2 separate regions of the Homo sapiens genome follow, and region 1 is linked to region 2. Evidence: promoter capture Hi-C in human tissues and cell types (Jung and others, 2019). All regions are on one chromosome and are shown on one strand. Each heading gives the region's core, a stretch centred on a gene start or on the middle of the fragment in contact. The rest is flanking DNA. Distances are from core to core; before and after follow the strand shown. Region 1 has its middle 230 kb from the start of OR4A47. Region 2 holds the start of OR4B1 (olfactory receptor family 4 subfamily B member 1).

Region 1 (6,928 bases), core at 3,347-5,846, 500 kb before region 2:
AAACCTTGTGTCTACGTTTTATGTGAAGATATTTCCATTTTCACTGTAGGCCTCAAAGGGCTCACAAATATCACTTTGCAGATTCTACAAAAAGACTGATTCCAAACTGCTCAATCAAAGGACTGGATCAACTCTGTGAGATGAGTGCATACATCATGAAGAAGATTCTCAGAAACCTTCCATATAGTTTTTGTTCAGATATATACTTTTTCAACCTAGGCCTCAAAGCACTCACAAATATCTCTTTGCAGATTCTACAAGAACAGAGTTTCCAATCTGATCAATGCAAAGAAACATTTGCCTCTGTGAGGTGAATGCCCACATCACAAAGCAGTTTCTCAGAAAGCTCCTTGATAGTTTTATGTGAAGATATTTCCTTTATTACCATAGGCCTCAAGGGTTGCACAAATATCCCTTTTCAGATACCACAAAAAGAATGTTTCCAAACTGCTCAATCAAAAGTATGGTTCAACCCTGTGGGATGAATGCACACATCACAAAGAAGTTTCTCAGAAGTTTTTGTCTGGTTTTTATGAGAAGATTATTCCTTTTTCATCATAGGCCTCAAAGCACTCACAAATATCCCTTTGCAGATTCTAGAATTACAGTGTTTCCAAACTGCTCAATGAAAGGAAACGTTTCCTTCTCTGACATGAATGGACACAACACAAAGCAGTTTCTCAGTAAGCTTCTTTCTAGTTTTTATGTGAACATATTTCCTTTTCCACAATAGGACTCAAATCACTCACAAATATCCCTTTGAAGATTCTACAAGAACAGAGTTTCCATACTGCTCAATGAAAAGAAATGTTTACCTCTGTGAGATGATTGCACACTTCACTAAGCAGTTTGATATAAAACTTCTTTATTGTTTTTATATGAAGGCATTTCCTTTCTCACCATGGGCCTCAAAGCACTCAAAAATACCCCATTGCAGATTCTTCAAAAAGACTGTTTCCATACTGCTCAATCAAAAATATTGTCCAACTCTGTGAGATGAATGCACACATCACAAAAAAGTTTCTCAGAAAGCTTCTGTCTAGTTTATATGTGAAGATATTTCCTTTTTCACAAAAGGCCTCAAAGAACTTATGAATATCCCTTTGCAGATTCTACAGAAAGACTGTTTCCAAGCTGCTCAATCAAAAGAATGTTTCAAGTCTGTGACATGAATGCACACATCACAAAGAATTTTCTCAGAAAGCTTCTGTCTTCTTTTTATGTGAAAATACTTCCTTTTTCACCATAGGCCTCAAAGCACTCTAAAATATACTTTCATAGATTATAGAAGAACAGAGTTTCCAAACTGCTGAATGAAAAGAAACGTTTACTTCATTGAGGTGAATGGACACATCACAAGGCAGTTTTTCAGAAAGCTTCTTTCTGGTTTTTATGTGAAGATGTTTCCATTTTCACCATAGGCCTCAAAGCGTTCCACAAATATCCTTTTGCAGATTCTACAAAAAGACTGTTTCCAAACTGCTCAATCAAAAGCATTGTTCATCACTGTGAGTTGAATGCACACATCACAAAGAAGTTTCTCAGAAATCTTCTGTATAGTATTTATGTGAAGATAAATCCTTTTTCACCATGCGACTCAAAGTGCTCACAAATATCCCTTTGCAGGTTCTGCAAGAAGACTGTTTCCAAACTGTTCTATCAAACGAAGAATTCAACTCTGTGAGTTGAATGCACACATCAAAAAGCAGTTTCTCAGAAAGCTTCTTTCTCGGATTGATGTGAAGATACTTCCATTTTCTCCATAGGCCACTAAGCGTCCAAAAATATCCCTTTGCAGATCCTACAAAAAGACTGTTTTCAAACTGCTGAATCAGAAGAATGGTTCAACTCTGTGAGATGAATGCCCTCATCACCAAGTAGTTTCTCAGAAACCTTCTTTCTAGTTTTTATGTGAAGACATTTTATTTTTCACCATAGGCCTCAAAGTGCTTACAAATATACCTTTGCAGGTTCTACAAAAACAGTGTTTCCAAACTGTTCAATTAAAAGAATGTTTCAACTCTCTGTGATGAATGCACACATTACAAAGTAGTTTCTCAGACAGCTTCTGCCTAGTTTTTACATGAAGATATTTCCTTTTTCACCATGGGCCTCCAAGTGCTCACAAATATTTGTTTGCAGGTTCTACAAGAACAGAGTTCCCAAACTGCACAATCAAAAGAATGGTTCAACACTGTCAGATGAATGCACAGACCACAAAGCAGTTTTGAGAAAGCTTCTGTCTAGTTTTTATGTGGAGATAATACCTTTTTCACCATAAGCCTCAAAGGGCTCACAAATATCCCCTAGGACATTCTACAAAAAGACTGTTTCCAAACTGCTCAATCAAAAGAAAGGTTCAAATCTGTGAGATGAATGCACACATCACAAAGCAGTTTCTCAGAAAGAATCTGTCTAGTTTTTATGTGAAGATATTTCCATTTTCTCCATAGGCCTCAAAGCGTTTACAAATATCCCTTTGCAGATACTACAAAAAGATTGTTTCCAAACTGCTCAATCAAAATAATGGTTCAAATCTGTGAAATTAAGGCACACATTAGAAAGCAGTTTTTCAGAAACATTCTGTCTAGTTTTTATGTGAAGATATTTCATTTTTCACCATAGGCCTCAAAGCGATCACAAATATCCCTTTGCAGATTCTACAAAAAGAATGTTTCCACACTGCTCAATCAAAATAATCATTCCACTCTGTGACATGAAGGCACACATTACAAAGCAGTTTCTCAGAAAACTTCTGGCTAGTTTTTATGTGGAGATATTTCCTTTTTCAGCATAAGCCTCAAATGACTCAAAAATATCCCTTTGCAGATTCTACAAAAAGACGCCTTCCAAAGTGCTCAATTGAAAGAATGTTTCAACACTGTGAGATGAATGCATACATCACAAAGAACTTTCTCAGAAAGCTTCTGTGTAATTTTTATGTGAAGATATTTCCTTTTTCACCATAGGCATCAAAGCGCTCACAAATATCTCTTTGCAGATACTGGAAGAACAGAGTTTCCAAAGTGCTTAATGAAAAGAAACATTTAACTCTGTTAGATGAATGCACACATCACAAACCAGTCTCTCAGAAAGCTTCTGCCTGGTTTTTATGTGAAGATATTTCCTTTTTCACCATAGGCATTAAAGCACTCAGAAATATCCCTTTGCACATTCTACAAGAACAGATTTTCCAAACTGCTCAATGAAAAAAAAGTATATCTCTGTGAGATGAATGCAAACACGCAAAGCAGTATCTCAGCAACCTTCTTTCTAGTTTTTATGTGAAGATATTTCCTTTTTCACCATAGGACTCAAAGTGCTCACAAATATGCCTTTGCAGATTCTACCAAAAGATGGTTTCCAAATTGCTCAATCAAAGTGATTGTTCAACTCTGTGACATGAATGCACACATCACAAAGTTTCTCAGAAAGCTTCTGTCTAGATTTTATGTGAAGATATTTCCTCTTTCACCATAGACCTCAAAGTGCTCACAAATATCCCTTTGCAGATCCTAGAGGAACATAGTTTCCAAACTGCTCACTGAAAACTAATGTTTACCTCTGTGAGATGAATGGACACATCATGAAGCAGTTTCTCAGAAAGCTTCTTTCTACTTTTAATGTGAAGATACTTACTTTTTCACCTTAGGCCTCCAAGCACTCCCCAATATCTCTTAGCAGACTCTACAAAAAGACTGTTTAGGAACTGCTCAATCAAAAGAACGGTTCAAGCCTGTGAGAAGAACACACACATCACAAAGAAGTTTCTCAGAAACCTTGTGTCTAGTTTTTCTATGAGGATCTATCCTTAATCACTGTAGGCCTAAAAGTGCTCACAAAAATTGCTTTGAAACTTGTGGTGAAAAAGGAAACATCTTCACATAAAAACTAGAAGGAAGCTTTCTGAGAAACTGCTTTGTGGTGTGTCCATTCATGGCACAGAAGTAAACACATGATTTCATGAGCACTTTGGAAACTTTGTCCTCCTAAAACCTGTAAAGGGATATTGGGAAGCACTTTGAGGTCTATGGTGAAAACGGAAATATCTTCACATAAAAACTAGATAAAAGCTTTCTGAGAAATTGTTTTGTGATGTGTCCATTCATCTCATAGAAGTAAACGTTACTTTTCATTGAGCAGTTTGGAAACTCTGTCCTTCTAGAAGCTGCAAATGGATATTTGTGAGTGCTTTGAGACCAAAGGTGAAAAAGGAAATAACTTCACATAAAAACTAGACAGACTTTCTGAGAAACTTCTTTGTGATGTGTGCATTCATTTCACAGAGTTGAATGATTCTCTTGATTTAGCAGTTTAGAAAGAGTCTTTTTGTAGAATCTGCAAAGGGATATTTGTGAGTGCTTTGAGGTTTACAGTGAAAAGGGAAATATCTTCACATAAAAACTAGACAGAAGCTTTCTGAGAAACTTCTTTGTGATATGTGCATTCATCTCACAGTGCTGAACCATTCTTTTGAATGAGCAGATTGTAAACAGTCTTTTTGTAGAATCTGCAAAGTGATAACTGGGAGCACTTTAAGGCCTATGGTGAAAAAGGAAATATCTTCACATAAAAAGTAGACAGAAGCTTTCTGAGAAACTTCTTTGTGTTGTGTGCTTTCATCTGACAGAGTAGAACTTTCTTTTGATTGAGAAGTTTGGAAACAGTCGTTTTGTGAAATCTGCAAAGGGATATTTGGGAATGCTTTGAGGCCTATGGTGGAAAAGGAAATATCTTCACATAAAAACTAGACAGAAGCATTCTGAGAAACTTCTTTGTGATGTGTGCATTCATCTCACAGAGTTGAACCTTTCTTTTGATTGAGCAGTTTTGCAACACTCTTTCTGTGAAATCTGCAAAGGGGTATTTGGGAATGCTTTGAGGCCTATGGTGAAAAGGGAAAGTCTTCACTTAAAAAATGGAAATAACCTTTCTGAGAAACTGATTTATGATGTGTGCATTCATCTCACAGTGGTAAATTTCTTTTCATTGAGTAGTTTGGAAACTCTGTTCTTGTAGAATCTACAAACGTTTGTTTGTGAGTCCTTTGAGGCCTATGGTGAAAAAGGAAATATCTTCACATAAAAACTAGACAGAAGGTTTCTGAGAAACGTCTTTGTGATATATACATTCATCTCACAGAGTTGAACCACTCTTTTGATTGAGCAATTTTGATACAGTCTTTTTGTAGAATCTACAAAGGGATATTTGGGAGTGCTCAGTGGTCTATGGTGAAAAAGGAAATATCTTCACATAGAAACTAGATAGAGGCTTGATGAGAAACTTCTTTATGATGTTTGCATTCATCTCACAGCGTCAAACCATCCTTTTCATTGAGCAGTTTAGAAACAGTTTTTTTTTAGAAACTGCAAAAGGAGGCTTGCTTGTGAGGGCTTTGTGTCCTATGGTGAAAATGGAAATATCTTCCCATAAAGACTCCAAAGAAGCTTTCTGAGAAAGTGCTCTGTCATTTGTGCATTCATCTCACAGAGGTAAAAGTTTCTTCTCATTCAACACTTTGGAAACTCTGTTCTTCTAGAATCTTCAAAGGGATATTAGTGAGTGCTTTGAGGCCTATGTTGAAAAAGGAAATATCTAGACAATCTTTCTGAGAAACTTCTTTGTGATGTGTGCATTCATCTCAAAGAGCTGAAAAATTTTTTTGATTGAGCAGTTTGGAAAATGCCTTTTTGTGGAATTTGCAAATGTATATTTGTGAGCATTTTGAGGCCTAAGGTGTAAAAGGAAATATCTTCACATAAAAATTAGATGGAAGTTTTCTGAGAAACTTGTTTGTGATGTGTGCATTCATGTCATAGAGTTCAACCATTCTTTTGATTGAGCAGTTTGGAAACAGTGTTTTGTTAGAATCTGCAGAGGGATATTTTGTAGGGCTTTGAGGCCTATGGTGAAAAAGGAAATATCTTCAAATAAAAACTAGAAAGAAGCTTTCTGAGAATCTGATTTGTGATGTGTGCATTCATCTCACAGATGTAAACATTTCTTTTCATTGAGCAGTTTGGATATTCTGTCCTTGTACAATCTGCAAAGGGATATTTGTGAGGGCTCTGAAGCTTATGGTGAAAAAGAAATATCTTCAGCTAAAATCTAAACAAAACTTTCTGAAAACATCTTTGTGATGTGTGCATTCATCTCATAAAGTTGAACCATTCTTTTTATTGAGACTTTTGGCAAGTATTTTTATAGAATCTGCAAAGGGATATTTGGGGGCTCTATGAGGCCTATGGTGAAAACTGAACTATCTTCACATAAAAACTAGACAGAAGCTTTCTGAGAAACTGCTTTGTGATGGGTGCATTCATCTCACAGAGGTAAGCGTTTCTTTTTATTGAGTAGTTTGGAAACTCTGTTCTTGGAGATTCTGCAAAGGGACGTTTGTGAGTGTTTCTAGGCTGATGGTGATAAAGGAAATATCTTCACATAAAAAAAGATTTCTGGGAAACTCCTTTGTGAGTTTTGCATTCGTCTCACAGAGGTAAATGTTTCTTATCATTGAGCAGTTTGGAAACTCTGTTCTTCTAGAATCTGCAAAGGGATATTGTGAGCACTTTGAGGTCATTGGTGAAGAAGTAAATATCTTTACATAAAAACTAGACAAAAGCTTTCTCAGAAACCTCTATATAATGTGTGCATTCATCTCACAGAGGTGAAAAATTCTTTTGATTGAGCAGTTTGGAAACAGTCTTTTTGTGGGATCTGCAAAAGGATATTATGAGCGCTTTGATGCCTATGCTGAAAAAGGAAATATCTTCACACAAAAAGTAGGCAGAAGATTTCTGAGAAACTTCTTTGTGATGTGTGCATTCATCTCACAGAGTTGAACCATTCTTTTGATTGAGCAGTTTGGAAACAGTCTTTTTGTGGGATCTGCAAAGGGATATTATGAGCGCTTTGATGCCTATGCTGA
Region 2 (7,459 bases), core at 3,596-6,095:
GGCACACATTTGTCGTCCCATCTACTCAGGAGGCTAAGGCACGAGAATCGCTTGAACCCAGGAGGGAGAGTTTGCAGTGAGCCAAGATGGCACCACTGTACTCCACCTGGGTGACAGAGTGAAACTTTGTCTCAAAAAAAAACAAACAAAACAAAAATTATAGTTCCCTGCCCCCTTTGAAATTAGGTTTCACCATGCTACTAATCGTTATCAAGATGAAAGCAAAAGTGCTATATGGCACTTTTGGAAAATCTAAAGGGAAAGTGATCAGTTTTTCCGCCTCCTTTCTCTGCTTCTGTCCCCTGGAATAGAAATGCAAAGCTAGAGTTGTGTTGTCCAATATGTCATCCACATGTGGCTATTGAGGCTTAACTTATTTAAAGTAAATACATTTAAAATTCACTTCCTGGGTCTCACTAGCCATATTTCAAGTGCTCAACAGACACTACGATATTTTTTCCCTATACCATAATGCTCAGAAGCATTGCCATATTGAACTGCACAGATATAGAATATCTCCATCAGAGCTGGACTTTCAACCTCTGAACTTTTTTAACTCTATCTCATTAAAAGTTGCTTTTTTCCCTGTTATATGCAGTCAAACCTATACCTAAATGAATACAAATAATTAATGGACAAAGGATACAAAATTATGTATCTGAGTAGTTTACAGCACTCTACTAGTTTTTCTTTAAAGAAAGCATGTTATATTGATTCTCTTAAAAATACATTTTTAATGTTGTGATAAAATCAACAACCAAGAGCTAACTACATGCTCTCTAGTGCTAAGTGGTATAATTAGATTATTACTACTTCTGTTCATTGAGAAGACATTTTTAAAATTTTATGACATTCTCTGTCTCTTAAAACAATGAAAAAATGTTTTCCTTTAACTTATGTGCTTCTTGCAGCAAGGCCAGAACAAAGTGAGTAATCAGCTCTCAACAGACCTAAGTCTCAACTCTCTTGAGGGTTGAGAGTAGGTGACATGATCCTTAAGAATTTTGACCATTCAATTAGAATAGATATTATCTGCCTGTGCAGTATCCAACCACTCAGAGTTCACTGATGGTGTTCTATCCATAGTTCTCAGAGAGGAAACCAAACCTGCCCATGAGTAAGGGACTCCTACCACAACCTGCAACCTAAAGTCCTAGCCTGCTTTAATACAAGCAAGATATCAAGAGAAAGGAAGGGTGCCTTCACTGTGTTTCATTCTGGAGCAAATGCTTTAAAATATACATTAACAAGATATAAAAGCATTAGCATAAAAGATTATAGGGAAGCTATTTTACAGTCAACATCTATTTAACAAATACTAAGTGAGTACCTATGATGCACCAGGTAGATGGCCTAACAGAGAATGTTTACGTTCAGAGAAGCAACGTGGCATGCGACAGAGAAGGTCTATTGAACTGCCTTAGAATGCTTGAACACTTTTGGGGTGGAATCAAGGCCTATTCTGAGTAGCTCTACAGGACAGAATGATCATTGTGAGATGCAGTCATCACACAAAATAAAATTAATAATCAGTTCTAATGATGAAGATGATGATGGCTAATATTTATTGATGACCATGTTCTGTTCTAAAAGCTTTGCAGGTATATTATCTGATTTAATATTCAGAATAATCCCTTTTTTTTCTTTCTTTCTTTTTTTTTTTTTTTTTTGAGGCTAAGTCTCACTCTGTTACCCAAGCTGGAGTGCAGTGGTGCTATGTTGGCTCACTGCAACCTCCGCTTCCCAGGTTCAAGTGATTCTCTTGCCGTAGCCTCCCGAGTAGCTGGGATTACACGTACGTGCCACCATACCTGGCTAATTTTTAGTACAGACAGCGTTTCTCCATGTTGTCCAGGCTGGTCTCAAACTCCTGACCTCAAGTGATCCACCTGCCTCAGCCTCCCAAAGCACTGTGATTACAGGCGTGAGCCACCACACCCAGCCAGAATAATCTTATAAACTTCATAGTATTGTTAGTCATTATACTCATGCATAAACAGTTGTTCAGGGAAGTTAAGTACTTTGGATCCTGGGTTGTGGCTCACAGGCAATTGGAACAGCCTAACAAATGTCAGAGCCTGAGCTCTTAAAATTTCAACAGGAAGATGTGCTCCTCACCATGAAAGTGTTCAAAAGGAACCTATAAGAATTAATATAGCAAGGATTGTGCATGAGCCTAAAGGGTTGGTTATTCCACATGCACTTAAGAAGTATCAACTATGTGCATGATATTTAGAGCTGCAAAGAAGAAGGGACAGTGGACAGTCCTGCCCTTGAGAGCTTACAGTCTATTGAGAGACAAACACATCAAATAATCAGAATTGAAGTGATAGGGCAATAATATGTAAAAATGACTGCAGAAAGGAGACATAAATTCAACCCAAAGAGGAGGGAAGTCAGAGAAGGTCTTATAAGGAAGATGACTTGAACCTAGGTCTTGAAGAATGTATAGGATTTTGCCATACAGAAAAGGGAAGTAAAGTCATTCCAAGCAGAAGCAGCAACATTTTCTCAGGGATTAATGATGGTCGTCTATGGACAGGGTTAATGGGAACACTAAGGGAAGTGAGAAGTTTGCTGGTGCCTTTAAAACCACTATTTACCTACGTGTTCAACCAGCACCTATAATAGAAAGGAAAAAGCCCTAAGATATATAGCACACCCATGATACTCCATCCCTCTGCTAGGGAAGCTGCATGAATTATTTCACCTGATTCTCAAGAAAAAGCAGAGGATGTTGTGCAAATTCAATGCCAATATGTGCAATTTTAAAGCCAACAGGGAACAACTTTATGATATTCTATAAATTATGTACAATTATATGAAACAATGGGGTAAGGCAGAGATGCTGAGAAGTTAACCAAAAGTGCAGACACAGACGATCTCATCTCCCTTCACCAAGAAATACTAATAGGCATTAAAAGAAATGGCCTTGCATGGTCACTTAGAACAAGGGACAGGGTCTGGAGTAGAAGTATGCTTGGACAGTATCACTCTCCCCTTCATTCTTTAAGTTAGGCCTAATAAGCATTTTCTAACATTTTGTATTTTTCACATCTGGATAAGACTAACAATGTTTTTGTGAAACACTGTATTTGTGAAAATATTTGACTTGATCTTTCCATAGTGATAAGTAGAATCTATGTCATTTTGATATTATTTTTTTACAAATGTTGGACATTGTGAGAAAGACCAGACAGATTTAAGGACCATCTCTTGTGAAAACATATCACAAGAACTAAAAATGCTCCAGGGACTTTTCTGGGGCTTATGGTCAGATGGTCCATGGTACAAGATACCAGGAGCCAACCAGAAGAAAAGAAAAGTCCCTGGATGTAATTTTCAAAGACATACTTGTCAACATTGTAGATCAGATTGGTGCCCTCCTTCCTAAATATTCCCTGATAATTCCTCTGGTTGGTTTCCTTTTTTAATGAAATAGAGTTTGTTATCATGAGGGAGTTTGAACAAAGAGGGGAGAAAGAATGAAGGAAGAAAAGAAGGAAGGGAGGGAGGAAGGAGGAAGAGCAAAAGGGAGAAAGAAAAGAAGTGAGGAAGGGAGGAGGTAACAGGAAGAAGTGACTTAATCTAAAAAACATTTATCAACATGTTCTCCTTTGCATTTGCACTTGGTTTGAGGCTTCATATTACCCAAGCCCATGATATTGTTGGATATCATGAAGCCAATCAAGTTCTCTAAGACTCTGCGAGACTATCTGACCTCTGTCCTTCAAACATTACACCAGCATACCAAGTGTCTTTGGCTACTAAGCAGAATCACAGCAGCAGTATCATTAAGCCTTTATATTTGTTTCTGTCATTCTTGAATATCCCACTAAAATCAAAATCCATTTCAAGAACAGAGAGTAATCAGACATACATTTTGTATCACTTTTTCATCCCTAAGCTCTTTTTTCACTCCCTCCCTGGATTCTCCTTTTTGCTCCACAATCTTCTTATGGCGATTTTCACCTCTGCATTCCTGAGTGTGTAAATGATGGGGTTCAGCATGGGGGTGATGACCGTGTAGAATACAGCCACAAGTTTATCTTCAGTGAAAGTGGAAGAAGGTCGCATGTAGAGGAAGATAGCAGGTCCAAAAAACAAGATGACCACTGTGATGTGAGAAGCACAGGTGGAGAGGGCTTTGTGCCTCCCCTCTGCAGAATGGTTCCTCAAGTTGACCAGAATGACAATATAAGAGGACACCAAGATGAGGAAGGAGAAGACAGAGAATAATCCACTGTTGGCCAACACAATAACCCCCTCCATGAAGGTGTCAGTGCAGGCAAGCTTGAATAAAGGCTGGAGGTCACAGAAATAGTGGTCAATCACATTGGGACCACAGAAGGGCAATTGGATGATAACGAGAATCTGAATTATGGAGTGACAAAAGCCCCCCAGCCAGGAACCAGCCACCAGAAGGTGACACAGTTGACGACTGATAATGTTCATATAATGAAGAGGCTTGCAAATGGCCACGTAGCAATCATAGGCCATCACCACAATCAAAAGGATCTCAGCAACCCCAAAGAAGTGGAAGAAGAATATCTGAGTCAGACAGCCTTCCAGAGAGATGGTTTTAATCTTGGCAAGTAAGTCTATGATGAATTTAGGGGCGATAGTGGAGGAATAACTGATCTCCACCAAGGACAGGCAGCTAAGGAAGAAGTACATGGGAGAATCCAGACTCTTGCTGATACTGACCGTCAGAACGATGAGGCCATTGCCCACCACCGTGGCAAGGTACACGGGGAGAAACACCACAAAGCATACACTCTGCACAGCTGGATCCTGGAAAAGGCCAGTGAAAATCAACTCAGTCACATTACTTGTACTGGCCATGGATTCCACTCAGAGAAGACAGATCTCAGAGAAGAGCCCTGTGACAAAGCACATGCAATCATAACGCTAATCCTTCATGTTTATTTAGCACTTGCTTGTTAATAAAACCCTTTTATGCATATTTTCTGACTCATTTGTTTATTTATTTATATAGTCAATGTTTATTCATTTGGTGCTCAATAGCCTACCCTATGCAAGACACTGGTCAAGCAGCCCCACAAAAACTCTATGATCCCCATATAACAAGTAAGAAAACTGAGGCTCAGAGAATTTGTGAATTAGCCAAGCCTCCCAGGTCATATTATTCCAACTCATACATTACTTTAAGTAAAAAAAATTACCGCTTTCAGCATGAAAACCATTTATATTAATTACTAACATTTCTCCTATTCTCCATTTTCTCTGGTCATGTCTTTGTGTTAGAGATTGTATAGTGACCTTCTGCTCCTGACTCTTTTGTTTCCTCCATTTATTTACTCCCCAGAAATGCCAATCTAAGTGAAACATCTCCATTTTAGGGAATATCTTTGATGTTTTCATTACATGAACTATGTAAGTTTCTGAATTCTTTCAGACCCTATGGTTTTTGCCCAGTCCTATAGCTTCATGAATTTTACAACCATTTTGAGAAAATGTTGGCAGCTGAGAGCTAAGTGAACATCCAGAAGTTGTTTGGAGAATAGCTCCCTATCAAACAATAGTTTGAATATAACATATGGACAACACCACTTTGCTTGTTTCTGTCTTCCAGTTTGCTTGCCATTAGCAAACATTTTTGTCAGCAGAAGGTGCAGGATTTCTTTTAAAATAACTCTTTAAACCAAAGATTTTATTAAGTACCTACCACAGGCCTAGGCAACTCAGGACATAGGAAAGGAGAATGGAACATGGTTCTAGCCTGAAGAGGCTTGTAACTTCAAATGATTAAACAACACATTTATGAAAAGAAGGAGAGAAAAACTTCAAGATTTTCTCTGCTTTCAAAACTATGTTGAAGTATCTCGGGCCGGGAGCAGTGGCTCAGGCCTGTAATCCCAGCACTTTAGGAGGCCGAGGTGGGTGGATCAACTGAGGTCAGGAGTTCAAGATCGGCCTGGCCAACATGGTGAAACCCCATCTCTACTAAAAATACAAAAATTAACCGGGCATGCTGGTGGGCACCTGTAATCCCACCTACTCAGGAGGCTGAGACAGGATAATCACTTGAACCCGGGAGGTGGAGGTTGCAGTGAGCCAAGATCTCACCATTGCACTCCAGCCTGGGTGACAAGAGCAAAACTCCGTCTCAAAAAATATTAAATAAAATAAAATTATTTTGAAGTATCTCTTATTCACCTTACTTTTCCTTCTTCCACTTGTGCTTCCATTTGAAAATATTCAATACTTTTTCCTCCCCAATTTCTCTCATAGTGAAAATTTGAAGAGAAACACAAGGTAAAAATCTGCTGAAAGATGCTCAGTAAGGAGCTTGGCTAAAACTGGAGATGAAGTGGAGTATTAATTGGTGAAGAAAAAAAAAAGAGGTACCCAAGAAAACAACTGAAAGGGAAAGAGAAAGCAAGATGGGACTCTCTTACCGGTGTAGAGGAATAGAAATAAGGGAAGCTTCAAAAACAACACAAGAAGGCTGCCAAGGGGTCTGGTGGCCTGGAGGAACTAGAGCATCTTGTTAGCTCATGTTTGCCATCATGTGGTTGTTAGGATGATGATGAAGATGGTGAACATGGTGGTTACCAGATGTTTACCATCTTCATTGTCATTGTCTTCCTAACAACCACAACAACTGCAGATGCTGCTGCTGTGTATTCCGGGTCTACTGTGTGCTAGACTGTGATAAGCATCTTACAGTCATCCCCTCATTTAATTCTTCCTGTACCTCTTTGAGGTAGCTAATTATTAGATGAGAGAAATGAGGCTTACAGAAGTTTAGTAACTTGTCCAAAGAAACATAGCTTGCGAGTGTTTGAGCCATAGCTGAAACCGAGCCTATGTAAATAAGGGTAGTGGAGAGCCACCACACCTCAGCTGGAGGAGAAAGGGGTTAGCCACCCCAGGGCCTTGGAGAAATAGCATCAAGACCTATGGTCAATACAAAACTTGGCCAAATTCATTTACTAATCCCACCCTGTGAATAGCAGGAGCATCATTAGAAACTCTACATTATTGGGAATGTTCCATTTCCACCATTTCTGGATCATGCAAGACCAAGAAACCATGTAGGATCCTGCGCAGAGTGTGAGACTCAGGGATTCCCCTCTCCTACTTTACCCAAAGGCAAGGATTTTGGTGGGAGGCAGAACTGCAGCTGGTGAGACCAAGCTATGGAATCTGTCATTCTCTTCCAGCGCAGGTGAGCTGAAGAAACCCCTCTCACACTGGGCCTTATAGCAGCACCATCATTTTCCCTGTCCCTCAGGATTGAAACCATGGAGTCACATCTAATTCATGCCTCCTCCACCTGTCATATTTACACAATCTTTATGTCCTGTTGATTTCACCAGTTTCCTCCTCTGTCTTCCTGCAGCTGCCATCTTCAAGTAGGACATAAACTCACATGAGGATGACTGCAGACACCTACATACTTCATCTGTCCCCAGACATCCCCAGTCTTCAT

Evidence for each region. The method cuts DNA at HindIII sites, captures the fragments that hold promoters and counts their contacts. A contact is called where the count stands out against the background at its distance.
Region 1: a contact is called between a fragment that was not itself captured here and the fragment with the promoter of OR4B1 in region 2, in 4 of the 25 tissues and cell types used here (H1 embryonic stem cells, aorta, bladder and 1 more).

The regions. Positions count from the first base shown.
Region 1 is chr11:48,714,428-48,721,355 of GRCh38, reverse strand. No RefSeq gene overlaps it. Among named protein-coding and RNA genes, the nearest start is that of OR4A47, 230 kb to the right of the region's middle. The HindIII fragment of the contact is 3,171 bases long and covers 3,011-6,181 here.
Region 2 is chr11:48,214,196-48,221,654 of GRCh38, reverse strand. It overlaps OR4B1 (olfactory receptor family 4 subfamily B member 1), which reads right to left and starts at 4,845. Exons shown (of 1, transcript NM_001005470.1): 1 at 3,916-4,845. The coding sequence starts at 4,845. The coding sequence ends at 3,916. The HindIII fragment of the contact is 4,187 bases long and covers 2,944-7,130 here.